7 separate regions of the Homo sapiens genome follow, and all the other regions are linked to region 1. The links are contacts of gene promoters, found by promoter capture Hi-C in blood cells and fetal thymus (Javierre and others, 2016). All regions are on one chromosome and are shown on one strand. The core of a region is centred on a gene start or on the middle of the fragment in contact, and the rest is flanking DNA. Distances in the headings are between cores, read along the strand shown.

The links. The method cuts DNA at HindIII sites, captures the fragments that hold promoters and counts their contacts. A CHiCAGO score of 5 or more calls a contact.
Region 2: a contact is called between a fragment that was not itself captured here and the fragment with the promoter of CD247 in region 1, in 1 of 17 cell types (total B cells). The highest score is 5.9, in total B cells.
Region 3: a contact is called between a fragment that was not itself captured here and the fragment with the promoter of CD247 in region 1, in 2 of 17 cell types (neutrophils and endothelial precursors). The highest score is 6.0, in neutrophils.
Region 4: a fragment that was not itself captured here is called in contact with the fragment with the promoter of CD247 in region 1 in 1 of 17 cell types (naive B cells); the score reaches 6.0 in naive B cells.
Region 5: a fragment that was not itself captured here is called in contact with the fragment with the promoter of CD247 in region 1 in 2 of 17 cell types (total B cells and fetal thymus); the score reaches 8.1 in total B cells.
Region 6: a fragment that was not itself captured here is called in contact with the fragment with the promoter of CD247 in region 1 in 1 of 17 cell types (fetal thymus); the score reaches 6.3 in fetal thymus.
Region 7: a fragment that was not itself captured here is called in contact with the fragment with the promoter of CD247 in region 1 in 1 of 17 cell types (total B cells); the score reaches 5.3 in total B cells.

Annotation. Positions count from the first base shown.
Region 1 is chr1:167,517,120-167,519,833 of GRCh38, reverse strand. It overlaps CD247 (CD247 molecule), which reads left to right and starts at 1,305. Exons shown (of 8, transcript NM_198053.3): 1 at 1,305-1,426. The coding sequence starts at 1,369. It also overlaps the pseudogene AKR1D1P1. RefSeq lists enhancers at 1,474-2,673, 1,945-2,714. The HindIII fragment of the contact is 3,961 bases long and covers 1-2,714 here.
Region 2 is chr1:167,190,917-167,193,616 of GRCh38, reverse strand. All of the region lies in intron 2 of LINC01363 (long intergenic non-protein coding RNA 1363), which reads left to right. Among named protein-coding and RNA genes, the nearest start is that of LINC01363, 3.5 kb to the left of the region's middle. The HindIII fragment of the contact is 2,029 bases long and covers 402-2,430 here.
Region 3 is chr1:167,115,390-167,118,089 of GRCh38, reverse strand. It overlaps STYXL2 (serine/threonine/tyrosine interacting like 2), which reads right to left. Exons shown (of 6, transcript NM_001080426.3): 4 at 531-762. Among named protein-coding and RNA genes, the nearest start is that of STYXL2, 23 kb to the right of the region's middle. The HindIII fragment of the contact is 3,511 bases long and covers 1-2,700 here.
Region 4 is chr1:167,142,524-167,145,223 of GRCh38, reverse strand. No RefSeq gene overlaps it. Among named protein-coding and RNA genes, the nearest start is that of STYXL2, 50 kb to the right of the region's middle. The HindIII fragment of the contact is 6,442 bases long and covers 1-2,700 here.
Region 5 is chr1:167,061,847-167,064,546 of GRCh38, reverse strand. GPA33 (glycoprotein A33) reads left to right here. Exons shown (of 7, transcript NM_005814.3): 4 at 810-965. GPA33-AS1 (GPA33 antisense RNA 1) reads right to left here. Exons shown (of 6, transcript XR_922249.3): 4 at 1,784-1,876; 5 at 1,430-1,559. Among named protein-coding and RNA genes, the nearest start is that of GPA33-AS1, 11 kb to the right of the region's middle. The HindIII fragment of the contact is 3,499 bases long and covers 1-2,700 here.
Region 6 is chr1:167,043,994-167,046,693 of GRCh38, reverse strand. No RefSeq gene overlaps it. Among named protein-coding and RNA genes, the nearest start is that of GPA33-AS1, 7.3 kb to the left of the region's middle. RefSeq lists an enhancer at 2,520-2,669. The HindIII fragment of the contact is 2,001 bases long and covers 256-2,256 here.
Region 7 is chr1:167,167,914-167,170,613 of GRCh38, reverse strand. LOC105371601 (a long non-coding RNA gene) reads right to left here. Exons shown (of 3, transcript XR_922250.3): 2 at 2,050-2,118. Among named protein-coding and RNA genes, the nearest start is that of LINC01363, 27 kb to the left of the region's middle. The HindIII fragment of the contact is 6,292 bases long and covers 1-2,700 here.

The DNA.
Region 1 (2,714 bases), core at 56-2,555:
CCCCCTGATGGCCTCCCCAGCTGTGTCTTCATTTTGGTATATGTAGGCTTCATCAGTGTGTCAGCACCCCAGACCAATGACAACCTTCACTGATGAAGACTCAGACTAAATGTAGAGACAGACTACTTGGGCTGTAGTGACATCTCTACCTACCACCTACTTGCTGTGTGGCCTTGAGTAAGTCATCGGCCCCCTTAGGGGTCAATTTAGGCTCTGAGTAGGTACCAAGTCTGATGATGGGAATGCTGTTTCCATCACTTAGAGGTATGCGGTGATTTGCAGGACTCACTTTCTTCATAGTGTCCTTTGATGCACAAAAACTTTTAATTGTGATGAAGTCCAATTTATCAATTTTATGTTGGATTGCTGTGACTTTGGATTATTGGCTATTCTTGTACATTAATTTTTTTCATATCAATTTTGGAATCAGCTTAACTTGTTCTAAAACTTTTTGTTGGTATTTTCAATGAAATAGATTGATTAATTAAGAGAGAATGGTGGTCTCCTTAAAAGAGAGCTTCCTATCAAAGAAGGGTATGCCTTTCCATTTACCCAAGTCCTTTCGGCGTTCTTCAGCAATGTTTTAAAGTTTGTTTCATATAGATATATTACAATTTTTAGACGAAGTTTATGTCTAGGTTTTAATGTTTTATTATTGTAAATTACTCTGGTGTTTAAATGTTGACAACTAACACAAGTGTTTAAAATACTATGTGAGCTACAGTATTTCACACAATGATCCAAATTCAGGCCAAGTTCAGATCTGCAACCTCAGATCTACTCCAGCTCTTTGCTTTATAGATAAGGAAGCTGAAGTCTAGAGATGTTGAGTGACTGACTCAACGCCACACAGCAAGTAGGTGGTAGGCAGAGATGTCACTAAAGCCCAAGGAATCTGTCTCTACATTTGTCCTGGACTCTAATCCAGGGTTCTGTCATTTTGCCAGCCACCATAAAATATTTGACAGTCTAGGAAAACAGCAAATGTTCTTACATCCATCGAGAACTTGTATTTGCCTAGAGATGGACTTTACCAATCAAGATAGGAATTAGATAAGAATTATTTTTTTTAAAAAAAGGAGCATTAAAACAATGGTCAAATGAGAGAAAAAGCAAAATTCAGACAGACAGATACATACACACACCCCAAACCCTCAAACCTCCAGGGCTTCCTGCCTGTGAACCGAAAGGGGGAGTGCGAATTTCTTGGCCCTGTCGGCAGGTGCTTTCTCAAAGGCCCCACAGTCCTCCACTTCCTGGGGAGGTAGCTGCAGAATAAAACCAGCAGAGACTCCTTTTCTCCTAACCGTCCCGGCCACCGCTGCCTCAGCCTCTGCCTCCCAGCCTCTTTCTGAGGGAAAGGACAAGATGAAGTGGAAGGCGCTTTTCACCGCGGCCATCCTGCAGGCACAGTTGCCGATTACAGGTAGGGCCGACGTGTCGACGGCAGGGAACTTCTAGAAACTCTTTGTGTATGTGTAGGGGAGTGGGTGTGGGTAGTGGAGGGTGGTGAGGGGCTGGGGTCTCCTTCAAATCCTGCCCTCCTCAAATCAATGGGCAAGTGAGCAGTGAGGGGTCCGGCCCGGTGCTGGCATCTGCTCCGTCACAGCCGAGTTGGGCATCAGTTCAGAGCCAGCTGCTAGAATACACAGCTCCTCCAGGTACAGATTTTTCGAGTGATAAGAGAGGAAGGAAGAAGGAAGCAAGAGAGCAACCGAGGCAGGCCCAGGGTAGAGAAACGGAGAGGGAGTGTTTCACAGAAGCTGGACAGGATCGGAAAATGTCAGCCAGGCCATGTTTCGTGCTGCGACGTTCTAGTCCCTTCAGCTTCTTTCACCCTCTGGCTGGCTCCGTCACTCAGCCCCTTTCTTTCTTCCTTTGCCAACAAAGAAGATTTTGTTGGTCAGTCAAGGTCATGGCCTGAAACACTCCAATGGGCCCGGGAGTAAGTGGGGTAACCAAGGAGGAGAGGGGCACAGGCAGGAAGCACCGGGTGGCAGCCTCCACAGCGCCTTCGCCACCTCATGGCCAAGCGTCCGTGTCTAGGCTCAGCCTTGTCATGGCTGTCCCCACACCCACGCCTGGGACTGCCGGGTGACGCACCATCCCAGGCTCCGTGACTCACCCCAGCCTGCCCCTTAGGCGGCCATCTAGCCCAGCCAGAGGGCCCGGCATTGACAGAACACGGGGCAGATGAGACGATGTGCCTGGTTAAGTCACCACCACGAGCAGCGCCCAGCCAACAAGAGTGCTTGCTCCTCACCTCATTCCCGATCGTGGGAGCCCAGCTTTGCTGCAAGCCTTTAGCTTCCACCATGTTTTCTAGCCCAGGTAATGAGGAAGAAAACCAGTGAAAAGAGGACAGGACAAACTGCTCAGGGGGATCAGCCTCGTGGCATCTTCCTGAGAAGTGGGGCAGGCTGAATTTCAATCTAAAGAAACAGGGAAGGTGAAGCAAGCAAATGTCCTCGGCCCACCTGATCGCTCCTGGTAACTCACCTGGGTGTGGGAATTTGTTTAGGGGCCCTGTTGGGAGGGCAGGAGAGGCCATGGGCACTTCTGCTCCCACCAGGGAGCCAGGCACAGCCCGGGCCAGCGCCTCGGGGGATTCTGAGGCCCGTGCAGCTGCAGGGGTTTCTGTCAGGTCACAGCTGTTTTCTCAGAAAAGCCTTGTGGGGTCTAAGTCACACACACAGTGTGGCAGAGTGAGGGTG
Region 2 (2,700 bases), core at 167-2,666, 330 kb after region 1:
ACCTCTCTCCTGTCTCATATTCTGTCCTCTCAACTTAGACTGCTTTGGTCTCCCCAGACTCTTAGTTTTGTGTCCTCAACTCAATGAGATCACCAGTCTCTGCCTCAGTTTCCCTTCCCTGAGCCATAGCTTGGAAAATGTGTCAAGGCAGTAAACTAGGGTAATTGTAGGGCTCATTAATTTTATTTTCTGTCTCTGCAGGATCACTATCCTTTGTTACCTGATACCCAGTGTCCTGAAACTACTGTTTCATATATCTCATCCCTCTTTTTGTTACTGTTTTAGGCAGCAGGATAAAATCTGGTTCCTGTTATTCAATTATAGCCAGAAGCAGAAGTCAGAACTTTGTGTTTGATGTCACCTCAATTTGGATTAAATTACTAACTTTGTTCCTTAAAGCTTGTGTGATCTCATCAAGTTATATAAACTGCTTGAGTCTTAGTTTATTTTCTGTTAAATGGGATAAACAAACTCTTTTTCAATATGGTACCACAAGAGAAGAATGAGAAAACGTGTGAATCACAGTATGTGCTGATGAAAGAAAGGATGAGCAGCCAGGAAATATGGAAAGAAAAAAATCTCGATGAGAGATTGAGAAGGGAAGAGAGTAAGAGACATGGAGTAGAGATAGCCTGGGAGGGGCCCCTTGGGTAAAGGGGATGGGGAAGAGATGTGGGGGAGTAAATACCAGTGGAGGAGGAGATGGAGATGGCATAACAGAAGTGAGGTAAAGGGAAGGAATTCTGTAGCTGCTCAAGGTTGTGTGGTTGGGGTTCTGCATAGAGATGCCCAGCCTAGGGGTGAATGAGTCTGGAAATCTAACCTGAATGCAGCAATCCAGGCCGTCTTCCCAGAGAAAGGCACTTTTACCTTCTCTCAGAGGCTCCTTCTGCCACCAAGCTATGGCTTATGGGTACATCTGCCTGGAGGCATGTGCTTTCCTAATTTGCACAAGGTGCTGTGAAGGCTGAGAGGCCCTGTCAACAAACACTGGATATGCTGGATATAGAGACACTTATCACCTTAGAGGAAAACATCTCTTTTGGCTTGGAACTTTGGACAGTAAAGAGCTTAATGCCATTTATTCATTTGTTTATTCACTTGTTGGGGCATTCATTCATCCAACAATCATTACAGTCGGTACCACAGTGGGCCAGGCACTATGCTGGGGGCTAGGGATAAAGTGAACAGGGCACAGTTTCTGCTTTCTAGAACAGAGATGTCACAGGTTATGTGATGTGGTACCTGTGGCCTGACAGTGAGAGGAGAGAAGTCAAGGTGGGGACCAAGAGACCACCTGGACTGTAGAGCTGACCAGGTAACTATCACCAGTGGGACAGGATGACTTCTGGTTTGCACTCCCAGTGCATCCAACTCTCTCTACTGCCTATCAGCCTTAGGAAGAAGGATGTTGGCATTAGGTTCGGGGATAGCAGAGCCAGTCTGGTGAGCCTGAGAGAAGTGTTGGGAACTTTTGTTGGAATGTGGAATGCTCAGCAACTGGCATTCTCTCTGAGTACCAGTCAACATCTCTTACATTCTCCCTGAGGGGGTGTGTTCAGCTATCACAAAAAACTATCATCCACACAGGAAAGAAAGACTCTGTCCAGATTTTTAAACCTAACACCCACAGGTTGTTCCTGAGTCTCCTTTGTGGCCTCACTATCATAATTCCATTTTTGTCTTTAGTGTTCAAATCCAGGAATATGTTTAAAATGCTGTATCTGGACTTAGAAAAATAAAATCTGAAGGGACTTGCAGAGGGTGATTTTTTAATTTTAAATTTGCTGAATAGATAAAATAGTCATATGATACAACATGCAAAAGCTACAAAATGATATTTTGAAAGTAAGTTTCCCAGCTACCCAGTTACCTTCTTCAGAAGCAACTGTTACTACCTGTTTTGTATGTCTTTCCAGAGACACTTTATACAAAAGGAAGCAAATATGTACATACATAGGGGCATAGGCTTTTTTATTAATACACAAATGCTGACTCTCTATATAAATATAGATGTACGTATGGTTCTGCAGTTTGCTGTTGCACTTAAATATATAGGAAATCTCTCACCAATTTTAACTTGTTTATTGAGTAATATTAACCCTATGAACATGAAGTGGTTTATTTTTCTCTAACCATTGCTTTCATATGTATCCCATCAAATATCCCTTTCTGATCTGGTTGCACACATACTGGACTTTGCATGCTAACTTTCTGACTTGAATTCATCTTTCTTTCTCTAGTACAAGGTATCAGTCCTATGCTAGCAATGTCCCAAATGAATTACTTTCAGAAAGTGTAAGACTTAAGGAGAAATTTTTGTTTTAAATTAGGAAATACAAAACTCCTTCTTGGGTCAGATTCGTTTTAATTCTCCGAAGTTACTTGGGCTGCCAAATCACATACCTTCCCTTCTTTTTGATTGAAGCTTTGGAGCCTATATTAGTCCGTTTTCACGCTGCTGGTAAAGACATTCCCAAGACTGGGCAATTTACAGAAGAAGGAGATTTATTGGACTTACAGTTCCACGTGGCTAGGGAGGCCTCACAATCATGGTGGAAGGTAAAAGGCAGGGAGGGGCAAGTCGTGTCTTACATGGATGGTGGCGGCAAAAACAGAGAGCTTGTGCTGGCAAACTTCCATTTTCTTAAACCATCAGCTCTCGTGAGATTCATTCACTCTCATGAGAACAGTTCAGGA
Region 3 (2,700 bases), core at 4-2,503, 400 kb after region 1:
TGTTCACATTTTCTCACATTTCCTAACTGTTGTCTATGCAAAAACATGCACACACATACACATACATCTGTTGCTCAATTAGCAGCACACTGTACATGTCTTCTCTTGTAATCTAATTCTTTCTTACTGTATTGTGAACATTTTCCAATGTTGGTAATTACATATGCATGTCAGTATTATTGTCAATGGCTCCTAGTGTCCGGTTCTGTGGTAGCTACAGATGTCATGAGATGGTGAAGTCGGCAAGACTCTGTGGCAGGAAAGGAGGCCCAGAGGCCTTCTTGAGGGACAAGAGAGTCCTGGCAAGAGGGCAAAGGATAAGCAGTCATGGCGGCATCTTGCCTGGAGACCTCCGAATGCAGGTGGATGGAGGGGCCTTTCTCTGGGCTGGGGCAGGGTAAGTGGCTAGGCAGCCTCATTGTGCTGGATGGACCTATGGGCGCCTTTGGTGAAAGTTGGGGGAGTTTCGTCTGTCTCAGGCACTAACCAGAGGGTTAGGACAAAGGGTCATGAAGAGCAGTCAGACTCACTTCTCAGCTATGAAGACATTGGGCCAGACCTCATCCACCTCATTCCAGGGCGCCTCTTGGCGATCCTGAACCAGGGCCCGCTGTAGGTCCAGGACACAGGGCGTATTATAGAGGCTGGTGTCATCCATCTTCTCCCTGACGCGGTTGTACAGGTCCTCCACCAGCAGCTGTTCAGCAGACTCCAGCATGCCTGGACACTCTGCGTCTGCTCTGACCCCCGGTGGCTTGAGTTCTAGAGGAGACAGGCAGCATTCTCATCAGAGAGTTAGGAACATCATGGCCTTCCTTGTTCCTGGGGAGAACATGCTCTTGGCCAGTTTGCTGCCAGGATTCTGGGCATGGACTGAATGCCAGCAGGATCTCCCAGGAAGGACTTTAATTGGGCCCAGGGTACCTGCTGCACTGGCCCAAACACTTGTAATCAGGGTCAGCAAGAAGACTGTATAGATGTGGGTAAAGGGGATCCAATTTCTTTTACTCCCTCCCATGCTTCTCTGAAGCTGGTCGATAATTTTTTAGACCAAGTTCCTTAAGTATTAGGTGTACTTTGATTCATACTTAATAACTCCCACAGTGCCCAGTACAAAGTGGATGCTCAGAAGTGTTTACCAGCCAGGCGTAGTGGCTCACGTCTGTAACCCCAGCACTTTGGGAGGCCAAGGTGGGCAGATGACCTGAGGTCAGCAGTTCAAGACCAATCTGACCAACATGGTGAAACACTGTCCCTACAAAAATACAAAATTAGCCAAGCGTGGTGGAGAGTGCCTGTAATCCCAGCTACTTGGGAGGCTGAGGCAGGAGAATCACTTGAACCTGGGAAATGGAGGTTGCAGTGAGCTGAGAGCATGCCATTGCATTCCAGCCTGGGCAAAAAGAACGAAACTCTGTCTCAAAAAAAAAAAAAAAAACCAAAAAAAAAAAAGTAGAAGTATTTACCAAATGAGTGAATGGCATTCATTCATAGTATAATTCACTCTGTTAGTTTGACTCTTTTACATATGGATTGCAAATAACCCTGGGAAAAGTAAAACTTTCAGCAGTAATTTATGCAATATTGCCTTCTAATATACACCTAATTTACTGATTTATTTCTTGTATTGTCTTCTTCCCCCTACTAGAATGTAAGGACCTATGATTCTCAGCCTCCCAGCCCACAGACAGGTGGCAAAGGTTGGCCATGAGCTCTCATTCTAATCTCAAAACGTGACTCAGGGCCTTTCTGACAACAGGTCAGAAAAGCTCAAACTCCAGATGAACTCAAACCCCAATTCACTCACATCTGGGGTGAATCTTTATCTTCTAATAATATATTTGCTCACAGTTTATCAAATTTGGGGAAATGTAAGATGCTTTCTTTCTTTAAGTTAGACAAAAATAACAAAGAACAAAATCGTTCCTCTCACATGGTAGCCAAAATACTGAATAGAGAGAGAGAGAGAAAAGAAGCTGGAAAGATGTTTCCTCTGTGTTCCCCATAGCCTCTTGATGGCACCATCTCTTCCCTGATGGGCAGTCTCTGGGTGGGGGCTGCAGAGAGTCCAGCCACATTTGGAAGGTAGACTTGGTCCAGCCCCTCGTGGAATCTGCTCCTCCCAGGGGTCTGTAAGCAGGGCTTGTTGCTCATGGACTGCAAATCCAGGGAGCCTTGGGTTCTGCCTAGGGCTCAGGATTTCATTTCCCTTCTCTCTTCCCTCCTCTAACCCCCCTGAGGGACCCCCACATCCCTGCATCAGGGCTCAGCTCTAAACGTTCTCTGATCTCCGTTTCAAACGCAGAAAGAAGAAAACTCCTGCAATCCCAGAGCTCTATTTTGTTTAAAAATAGATGAAGTGTTCCTATTTTCTCCACTACCCAGTTTTCTCCCCTGGCTCTCCTGGGGTCTTTCATAGCAAATTCAGTCCGCTCCCCTTCCCGTGTCTACTTAGATGTCTTTCCCTTACTACATATAAAAAGTGGGACTCCTGACACCTCATTAAAATACACGGTGTTGTCTTCCTCGGCTATTTATCTAGCAGGTTGTTGTTTCCATTTCTTTTCTTTTCAATTTAAAAACAAATGTCCCAGCCCTTCACCCCTGATGGCAACTCCTGCTTTCACTAGGTCTCTGGTTCACACTTCAGCCTCTGTAGAGCTTGCCTCTCTCCCTGCATCAATTTCTTTCTATTACCTG
Region 4 (2,700 bases), core at 2-2,501, 370 kb after region 1:
AACAAATATTATATAATTCCACTTATATGAGGCACATAGAGTAGTAAAAATCAAAGAGACAGAAAGCAGAATGGTGGTTTCCAGGGGCAGGAAAGAAGGGATAAGAAAGAGTCACTGTTTAAGGGGTATAGAGCTTGACTTTTACAAGATGAAAAAGTTCCAGGGATGGGTAGTGGTGATGATTGTACAACTTTATGAATATATTTAACATCACTTAACTGTACACTTAAAATGGTCACGATTATAGATTCTATGCTGTGTTTTCTCTTTCTTTCTTTCTTTCTTTTTCTTTTTCTTTTTTTTTTTTTTTTTTTTTTGAGACAGAGTTTCATTCTATTGCCTAGGCTGGAGTGCAGTTGCGTGATCTTGGCTCATTACTCCAGCCTCCACCTCCTGGGCTCAAGCGATTCTTCCACCTCAGTCTCCCAAATAGCTGGGAGTTCAGGAGCGTGCCACCACACCTGGCTAAATTTGTTTACTTTTTTGTAGAGATGAGGTCTCACTATATCTCCCAGGCTGGTCTTGAACTCCTCGGCTCAAGTGATCCTCTCACCTAAGCCTCCCAAAGTGCTGGGATTATAGACATTAGACAATGCTCCCAGACTATGTCATGTATATTTTACCACAACAAAAAAATTGAAGGAGGAAAAAAGGCTATTTGACTATTTTGATAATTGCACTATGGCCATAAAACATGTTAGAATAAGAGTGGGGGACATAAAGGAAGTCTTTATTACTTTTTTTGCAACTTTTCTGTAGGTCTAAAAGTAGACCAAAATAAAAAATGGCCATTTGAAAGTGCTGCTGATAATAAAAATATTATTTATATATAATGAAATATGGCAACATGGTGAAAACCTGTCTCTACAAAAAATACAAAAATCAGCTAGGCATGGTGGCGTGTGCCTATAGACCCAGCTACCAGGTGAGGGGAAGAGGGGGCTGAGGCAGGAGAATCGCTTGAGCCTGGAAGGTTGAAGCTGCAGTAAGCCGCGACTGTGCCACTGCACTTCAGCCCAGATGACAGAGTGAGACCCTTTCTCAAAAACAAGAACAAAACAAAAAAAGAAATGAACAACATTATAAACCCATTAGACCTAATGGACACTACACCCTACAAAAGCACAATGCACATTCTTCTCAAGGGCACATCGGACATCTCCTAGATGGGCAATGTAGTGAGACCTCATCTCTATAAAAAATTAAAAAATTAGCCAGGTGTGGTGGTGTGTGCCTGTAGCTTTAGCTACTTGGGAGGCTGAGGTGGGAGGATCACTTAAGCCTAAGAGTTTGAGGCTGCAGTGAGCCATGATCGTGCCAATGCAGTCCAGCCTGAGTGACAGAGACAGACCTTCTCTCTAAAAAAAACAACCACATAAAAGTAAAAGAAACGGAAAAAAAGTACGAAATAAATACAAAGCAAGAAGGGAAGAAATAAAGATTAGAGTAGATATAAATGAAATGGAATGGAAAAGCAATCGAGAATATCAGTAAAAAGTTGGTTCTTGGAAATGTTCAACAAAGGTGACAAATCTTTAATTGAACTTACCAAGAAAAAAAAAGAGAGAAGACAGAAATTACTAAAATCAGGAATGAAAAAAAAAAGAGGCCGGGCGTGGTAGCTGTAATCCCAGCACTTTGGGAGGCCTAGGCGGGCGGATCACTTGAGGTCAGGAGTTAGAGACTGGCCTGGCCAATACGGTGAAGCCCGTCTCTACTAAAAATACAAAAAATTAGCTGGGCATGGTGGCGTACACCTGTAATCCCAGCTACTCGGGAGGCTGAGGCAGGAGAATCTCTTGAACCCGGGAGACAGAAGTTGCAGTGAGCTGAGATTGTGCCATTGCACTCTAGTCTAGGTGAAAGAGTGAGACTCTGTCTCAAAAAAAAAAAAAAAAAAAAAAAAAAGAAAGAAAACAAAAACATCATTACCAACCTTGCAAAAATTAAAAGGATCATAAAAGTATATTACAAATAACTGCATGCCAACAAATTTGATATCATGGCCGGGTGCGGTGGCTCAGGGCTGTAATCCCAGCACTTTGGGAGGCTGAGGCGGGCGGATCACAAGGTCAGGAGATTGAGAGAATCCTGACTAACAAGGTGAAACCCGTCTCTACTAAAAATACAAAAATTAGCCGGGCGTGGTGGCGGGCACCTGTAGTCCCAGCTACTCGGGAGGCTGAGGCAGGGGAATGGCGTGAAGCCAGGAGGCGGAGCTTGCAGTGAGCCAAGATTGCACCACTGCACTCCAGCCTGGTCAACAGAGAGAGACTCCGTCTCCAAAAAAAAAGGAGTTCGATGGTGAAACCCCGTCTCTACTAAAACTACAAAAATTAGCCGGGTATGGTGGCATGCGCCTGTAATCCCAGCTACTCAGGAGCCTGAGGCAGGAGAATCGTTAGAACCCGGGAGGCAGAGGTTGCAGTGAGCCAAGATGGCGCCACTGCACTCCAGCCTGGGTGACAGAGCAAGACTCCATCTCAAAAAAAAAAAATTGATATCATATATGAAACGGACAAATTCCTAGAAAGACACAAACTACTGACTCAAGAAGAAATAGAAATCCTGAATAAATCTATAAAAACTAAAGATGGAAGTAGTAATTTAAAAACTCCCCCCCACACAAAAATCCCAGGCCACATGGTTTCACTGTTGAACCAAAGTTTAGAGAAGAATTAATACCAATCCCTCACAAAC
Region 5 (2,700 bases), core at 27-2,526, 460 kb after region 1:
GGTTTGTAGTCCACTAATTTTACAGAATGGAACACTGAGGTCGAGGGGAAGTGAGGATTTTCCCAAAATGGCACAAATGAATTAGTGGCAGAAGGAGCTCATATGGGCTGGTGGAGAGTGCACAGGATCTGGAGTTATAAGAGCTGAGATCTAGTCCCAGCTCTGCCAGTACCTATGAGCAAGTGTCCTCTCTGGGCCTCAATGTCCCCATCTTTCTTTCTTTCTTTCTTTCTTTTTCTTTTTTTCTTTTCTTTCTTTTTTTGAGACAGAGTTTTGCTCTTGTTGCCCAAGCTGGAGTGCTATGGCACGATCTCAGCTCACTGCAACCTCCGCCTCCCAGATTCAAGCAATTCTCCTGCTTCAGCCTCCTGAGTAACTGGGATTATAGGTGGGTGCCACCACGGCCGGCTAATTTTTTGTATTTTTAGTAGAGATGGGGTTTCACCATGTTGACCAGGCTGGTCTCAAACTCATCTCGAACCCCATCTTTCTAACGGCCATGTTCCGCTATCTTTAAAATCCCATGACTGTAAACTAGAACACACATGAGGCCATGCCTTGGAAAGCTACTGCAGGCCCGCAATGCTTCCCAGCATATGTACTGCTCCTTTGTGGTGGTGACAGACCACTGAGGCCATATTGGGGTGAATTGGTTTTACAGCATTCCATCTCACTACTCAACTATGGAGTTTTCTGCCTGTGAACAAACAAGGCAGTATATGTGTGTGGGGGGTGGGTGGGGAGGGGTGGGTGGCTGTCACCAAGCCCCACCTGCCTCATGCCTTCTCTTTGGTCTCTCCTCTATATAGTGCCACCCTCCAAACCAGAATGCGGCATCGAGGGAGAGACCATAATTGGGAACAACATCCAGCTGACCTGCCAATCAAAGGAGGGCTCACCAACCCCTCAGTACAGCTGGAAGAGGTACAACATCCTGAATCAGGAGCAGCCCCTGGCCCAGCCAGGTAAGGGGGCAGTAGGGAAGGCGGGCTCCCCACGTCAAAGTGCAACACATGCAGCTGATTGGCTAGGGGCTGCAACTTGGGTTGACCGATCAGATCCCCCTGAAGGCCGCTTGCTTCCCTACCCATCCCTATCCCCCTATCCCCACCTCTCTAAGCACTGGTTTCTTGTTTTTAGACAGAGTCTCGCCAGGTGGCCCAGGCTGGAGTGCAGTTGGCACGATCTCAGCTCACTGCAACCTCCTCCTCCCAGGTTCAAGCGATTCTTCTGCCTCAGCCTCCCAAGTAGCTAGGATTACAGGTGCCCACCACTATTTTTAGTAGAGACGGGGTTTCACCATGTTGGCCAGGCTGGTCTTGAACTCCTGACCTCAGGTGATCCACCCGCCTCAGCCTCTCAAAGTGCTGGGATTACAGGCGTGAGCCATCGCGCCCGGCCAGCACTGGTTTCTTATAATAATACCTACCTCATAGGTTCTGGCAAGAAACAAAAATGATTCATGTAAAGCGCGTAGCGGAAGCCGTGGTAAATGTTAACTTGTTTTCTTTGTTCCTCATTCCTCAGTTCTCTTGGATGAACGTGCCCTGATAAGCACTCTGTGCAAAAGCATGGGTAGGATTTTAATTTGATTGTGTCCTGAAGTATACATTTGAGACCCCAAGTCTAACTCGGGGGCTCCACGCAAAGGTGGGGAATTTAACTTTCCCATTCCTTATCCAGGCCGGTCCCTCTCAGCCGTCACGGACCCCCGCTGCCCCAGACACACCACCGTTTTATGGCTCCACACAACGACAGCACCATGTTGCTGTAAGGGTCCCACCTTCTTAGGGGAGGCGATGGTGGATTCAGCTATAGTTGCCAGGAGACCAGTTTTGTACTGGGCAGCTTGGTATTGGACCTTTCAGTCAGGAAACTGAAAAAAAAAAAAAAAAAAAAAGAAAGAGCTATATAAAAATCCTACCATCCTTTCCACACCCAGAGCCAATGGGTGTGGAAATACCCTGGTGGAGTCCCAGGGCCCCTAGTGCCACCCCTGCTCCTGAGGATCAAGAAAGACAAGGCTTGCTGGGTGCCGTGGCTCATGCCTGTAATCCCAGCACTTTGGGAGGCTGAGGCAGGAGGATCACTTGAGGCTAGGAGTTCAAGACCAGTCTGGGCAACATTGTGAGACCCCTGTCTCCAAACAAAATTTTTAAAAAATTAGCTGGGCATGGCAGGACTCACCCTTTAGTCCCAGCTACTCAGAAGGCTGAGGTGGGAGGATTGCTTAAGCTCTGGAGGTCGAGGCTGCAGTGAGCCATGATCACACCACTGCACTCCAGCCTTGGTGACAGAGCGAGACCCTGCCTCAAATAAAATAAAATAAAATAAAGTAAAATAAAATAAAATAAAGTAAAATAAAATAAAATAAATAAAATATTTTTTAAAAAGAAAGACAAGGCCTGAAAGGTGTCCATCCGATTTAGCTTCTGGGAGGTCTTTCAGTTCAGTGTAGGTGGAAAAGGAGGCCAGAGGTGGAAAGCAAAGCCAGCAGGGCACACAGCTCTTCTGAGAAGATGAGGTGCCCCGGGGGTGGGGATGAGGACCCGGGGGAAGAATATCTGGTGTCCTGGATAAGCCCAGCCGGACGGATGCACACATTGGGGGTGCACTCAATCCAGGAAGAGCTTTATCACTCGTTTGGGGGCAAATCGACTTCTTAAAAAAGTTAGTAGACACTTTGGGAGGCTGAGGCAG
Region 6 (2,700 bases), core at 7-2,506, 470 kb after region 1:
CTGAACTACAAGCAGGTGACCAAGGGAATGAGGTGTAGGGACCACAAGCACTTGCCCAGGCCCTCAGGGTGGACAGCCTACAGGCTTCTCCACCTCAGGGAGACCCTGACCCTGGGAGACTGCTTATACCTCAGCTTCAGGCATTGCTCCTCTTCAGAAGCCTTCGCTCCTGATTGCAGTCACTCGGCCTCAAGTGTGGGCTCGGGGGAGTCCCTCTCTTGTTATTTTCTCTGGCGAGGCACCCTCTTTGAAGCTTGCAGCTGATTCCTGTAGTGTTGGGCTGCAGCAGCCCCTTTTCTCTTTACCAGCAGTAACTGGACAGGGAATGATTTGCTCAGAGCAATACAATGACAAGAAAAGAGCCCCTGAATGAAAGTTTTTCCCAACCTGAGAGTCCTCCTAGATGCCACTTTTTTTTAAAGTCAACTAGTGGCCAGTTTTGAAGACATTATCCCTTTAGCATCTCTCCTATGAGTCTTCCTCCTCCCCATTCTCCTTTCTGTTGCAGCATTGTTCTGGGGCATAGAGACCTGGCCTCATCTGCTTATATATTCCTGGTTTGGAACAAACCTTGTTTTCTGCTCATTGGTAGCCCTTCAAGCCAACTTTATGCAAAACCAGGGAAGTGGCCTCTGCATGGGCAAGTGTCTAAATTAAGCATTTCAACCTACATAAAAACATGTCACCCTAACCCCACTCCACCCTTCTAGGCTGGCTTAAATTTAAGAATATTTGCACTTAAATCCGACTAAGAATATTTGCACCCCAGAAATTTCAAGAGATTATAAGTTTGGACTTACTGCTGATCGATACATTTCAAAACTTCCAATAAAAGAAATAGTACTTACAGAGAGTTGTACAAAGTATAGAATATTCTTTACTTTTTCCTTGTCTCAAGCCAAGCCATCGGATCTGCATCTTCGGTTGGAATCACCTTGAGTCCCTCTGGAATTCTTTTACATAACTACTTTAGCATTATTCCACTGGTCATCATTGTAGGAAATTGTTAGAAGCAATATTAGGTCTCTCATTTTTGTATTTATCATTAGAGTATTGTTGAGGACACTGCTCACTACATTGTAAATTACTTGTTGATGAAAATCCACCAGATAATTTTCTCTCAGGTCTGCTTACTAGGAAAGTTTTTGCTGCTCAGTTTTTTGGGTTTTTTTTCCACGATCTTGGCTCACTGAAACCTCCACCTCCTGGGTTCAAGAAATTCTCCTGCCTCAGCCTCCCAAGTAGCTGGGATTACAGGCATCTGCCACCAAGCCCGGCTAATTTTTGTATTTTCAGTAGAGACGGGGTTTCGCCATGTTGGCCAGGCTGGTCTCGAACTCCTGACCTCAGGTGATCCACCTGCCTTGGCCTCCCAAAGTGCTGGGATTACAGGCGTGAGCCACTGCACCCGGTTTCTTCTTTTTTTTTTTCTATTCCCATTAGGTCATAAGTTTTTGCTACATATAAGCAAGTCTGCTATAGACACATTGTGTTAAGGACACCATGAATTATATACAACTTGTGCTTTCCTCATTGCAATGATTGCTAGGAAGTTCAGAGTCAAACTTATATATGTCAAGGAACTGTTCAGGATTTTTCTAAATGGAGTTGGTGAACTAACTTTGTCCATGATTTCATCTCGCTCTCTCTCCTTTTTTGCCCTCATTTTATCTTCACAGTGATTTTGACTTTATTTAGTTCTCATCTTTTATGTATTTGTGGAATCCACCTTAAGTCCTCTTGAAAACAAGATGGGATTGAGTAGCAGTGAATACGAATAATAAAAACAGCTGTGGGGAGTGAGGTATAAGCGCCTGGAGTTGGGGTTGGGGAGGGAGAGTTTTGGCTGATTCAGCTCCTTGGGAGTCACAGGCCTGGATGAGGGGCATGACATGGAGGACATGCCCTGAGTGAGGGTGTGTGGTGAGAAAGCAGCTGAGGACGGGTTCTGTGGACAGCTTTATCACAGATGGAGGAGATGACAGTGAAAGGCCTGCAGCATGGCTGGAGGAAAGGAAAGCCCGAAAGAGGTCGGTCTGGGAAGCAGGAGAATATAGGTTCTTCCCTTTTGAAGTATTTTAAACAAGCCCATCATGTTTCTATTCTGCCCTTTTCCTCATAAAATCAACAAGAGGAATTGCACAGTTGAAAGACTTAATTGAGCATAGTTTATTTGGCTTGGCAGGCTTCTATGATTTTTTTTTTCTCTCCTGAACTAAAAAAAAAAAAAAAAGGCTACCCACGGAGAGAGAAGCTTTTCTGTTTCCACCTAAAGTTCACTTCCCACATTCCCAGCAGCCTTGGCAGACCCCTGTCAGTCTGGTCTATGGCGAGAGTAAGCGAGCCTTCCTGCACTTCCAGTCTGAGAGCACGCCCTGGTCTACCAGCGGATCCCGCGGGGAGTCAGGGCCCCAGCCTCTCCAAGCTCCTGTGGCCGAAGGTGACGTCAACACCCACTGCGCGCCTTCAGAGCGGCAGCGAGGCGGAAGTGGATTTCTGTAGAGAGGCACCTGGACTCATAATTTAGTGTACTTTCACTGCCTCCCCCACTTGGCAATCAAAACCGGAGATGCTTTTGAGCTTTCTTTTGTGCTGCCCGGAGAGGAGATGGGCTTATTGTGCCAACGGGCAATTATTTCATATCGCTCTACAGAGCACAAGCTGCAGCTGTCTTGGAGCAGGAGCTTTGCAAGGTGGATT
Region 7 (2,700 bases), core at 188-2,687, 350 kb after region 1:
TGCCCTCCTCCCAAGGCTGCAAGTCAAATATAACAACCATGAAGTCCCATCACTGTGTCTCACATCAGTTGCCAGAGGTGAAATCATGTGGGGGTTCACAGTATCTCAGATTTTATATTCTTTAAAGCAGTCACCACTCAGAAAGAAAAATCTGGAGCTTTTTATGGTGTCTTTAGAAAGGAGAGGGAAAAATAATGTTCCCTGGGATCTCTGTGATGTTAGCTCTGCCTCACATCACACTCTTCCCATTATCGCTGGATTTATTCTCATCCTCTTCTGGGAGGTGGGAAAGAGACTGTCATTGTTGTTGCCTTACAGGCTTCAGGTTTGCTCCAAAGGCATTGCCATGAAAGAAAGGCCGATTCCTTTGATGGCACACGAACTGGCACGTGTCCTCCCGCTCTCTTTCTCTCTCACTCTATAGGAGGTTAGGGTGTTGGTAGGAAAAAATTATGAAAAGGAGGGGAAGGTTCAAACTATATGTGAATAAAAACAATTTATCTCCATGAAATAAAGTTATGAAATAAAAATGATCATTCTTTCCAGGGACATTGTGAGATTGGGTGGGGAAGGAGGAGGTTTTTTGTTGTTGTTGTTGTTTTTTCTTAAGGAGCCCCAGGACCTCCCATTTATGTATTCAACAAATGTTTACTGAACACCTACTGTAATGGTTAATTTTAGGTGCCAAACTTGACAAGATTAAGGAACACCTAGAGAACTGGTACAGCATTGTTTCTGGGTGTGTCCATGAGGGTGCTTCCAGAGGAGACCGGCGTGTGAGTCAGTGGACTGAGGGAGGAAGTCTGCCCTCAATGTACATAGGCACTGTCCAATCAAGGGGGGCCTGAAGAGAGCAAAAAGGTAGAAGAAAGGCAAATTCTTTCCCCTCCCTTCTGGAGCTGGCACACCCTTCTTCTCCTACCCTTGGACATCAGAACTCCAGACTTACTGGCCTTTAGGTCAGGTCAGGACCTGCACCAGTGGCCTCTCCCTGGTTTTCTTGGGCTTTTGGCCTTGGATTGAGAGTTACACTATCGGCTTCTCTGGTTCAGAGGTCTTTAGACTTGGACTAGGTCATGCTACCAGCTTCCTGAGGTCTCTAACGTAGAGGTAGCCTGTCATGGTACTTCTCAGCCTCCATAATCACATGAGCCAATTCCCCTAATCAATCTCCTCTTATATCTTTCTATGTGTCTGTCCATAGCCTATTCATTCTGTCTCTCTGGAGAACTCTGACTAATATACCTGCTCTGTGCCAGGCATTGTACTAGATGCTTAAAATATAGCAGGGAATGAAATTGAAAAAGTCCCTGTACTGGTGAAGTTTACATTCCCTTGAGGAAAGACAAACCAATAAATGTGTGATATTCTAGGTGGTGATCACTGCTATGAAGGAAAGTAGAACTGGTTAAGCAATTAGCGAGTGACGGAAGGGGGTGGATTTTGCTAGGGAGTCCAAGGATGGCGTCACTGTAAAGTGATGTGTGAAGTGAATTGAGGGAGTGAGATCACTGAGGAGAGAGAGTTACTAGTGGAGGCAGCAAATGCAAAGGCATTGAGGTAGAAGTCTTCAACCTCACAGCATTATTCCTCCCCACTTTTTTTAACTCTTTGTTTCCAGTTTCCCCATCATCTTCCTCCTCTTTTTCTAATCTCTTTCCCACCTTTTCTTCCCTCTCCTTCCCTTATTTTTTCCATCTTAACATCAGTTTTTCTAAGCACTGTCTTATAGTAAGCCTGATCTTGTCCAGAAAATGCTAAATTTTAAGAAAGATGGGTGGGGGTGGAGGGAGGAAATGTGTCTCAGTGAGTGACACCCAGGCTACATATCGCCGTTGTATGACCATGGCGTGCTATGTGCTTCAAGAAAGTCCTTCACTGGCTCTGGGCCACCTGCAGAGAAAAGTCGGCGCTTCAAACCATGGGTGCCATGTCCTGTCAGTGACTCTTGCCAGCTCTGAAGAATGTGCACAGTGGACGTGGGATGGAGAGGAAGAGGCTATAGAAAGCACATTTCTCTATCTGTCAGCAGCCAAACTGGAAACTCACCAGGACCTGCCAGAAAGATTTCCTGCTTCATGAATTGAAATCAGAATGCTTAACTCTGCTCAGCTCCGTCTGTGATAGAGGAGATAGAAGCTGGTTAGCTTATATACAGTTTTGGAAAGTACATTACATTTTATAAAACAACGTGAAAAATATCTCCTAACAATGTCAGGATTTCTACACCTTCTTCTCTTTAGCCTCATGCCAAAAGATATGCAGTGATGAAGTCCCTGGCCCTTTAAAAAATAACTCCCAATCATTTGTGCAAAGATCAGGTCTGCCACAAATATTAAAGTTTAGGGTGTCTTCAAACACACTCTTAAAGAGGGAAATGCCTGGTGGAGGTAGTGTCTGCCTCACAATAGAGACTGAAGATGGATTAAGAAACACATTTCTCTCAAATGTGTTATCTCTTCTCTATGATTGAAACTGCCTTTGCAAAATTATGACTGAGACAGTGAAAGAGATCTAACGTAACTGACTCCATTTTGCTTTTAACCTCCAAGCTGTCCTTATTCATTCCTGGGCGTAGGAGGAACTTAGTTTATAGTTTAAAACAAAGACGATAACAGCCCTTTCCCCAAACAAGACGCCTTTGTAGGACTAACATTAGCCACAAGATTAGAAATTATGGTTTAGGAGTCATGCAGCTGG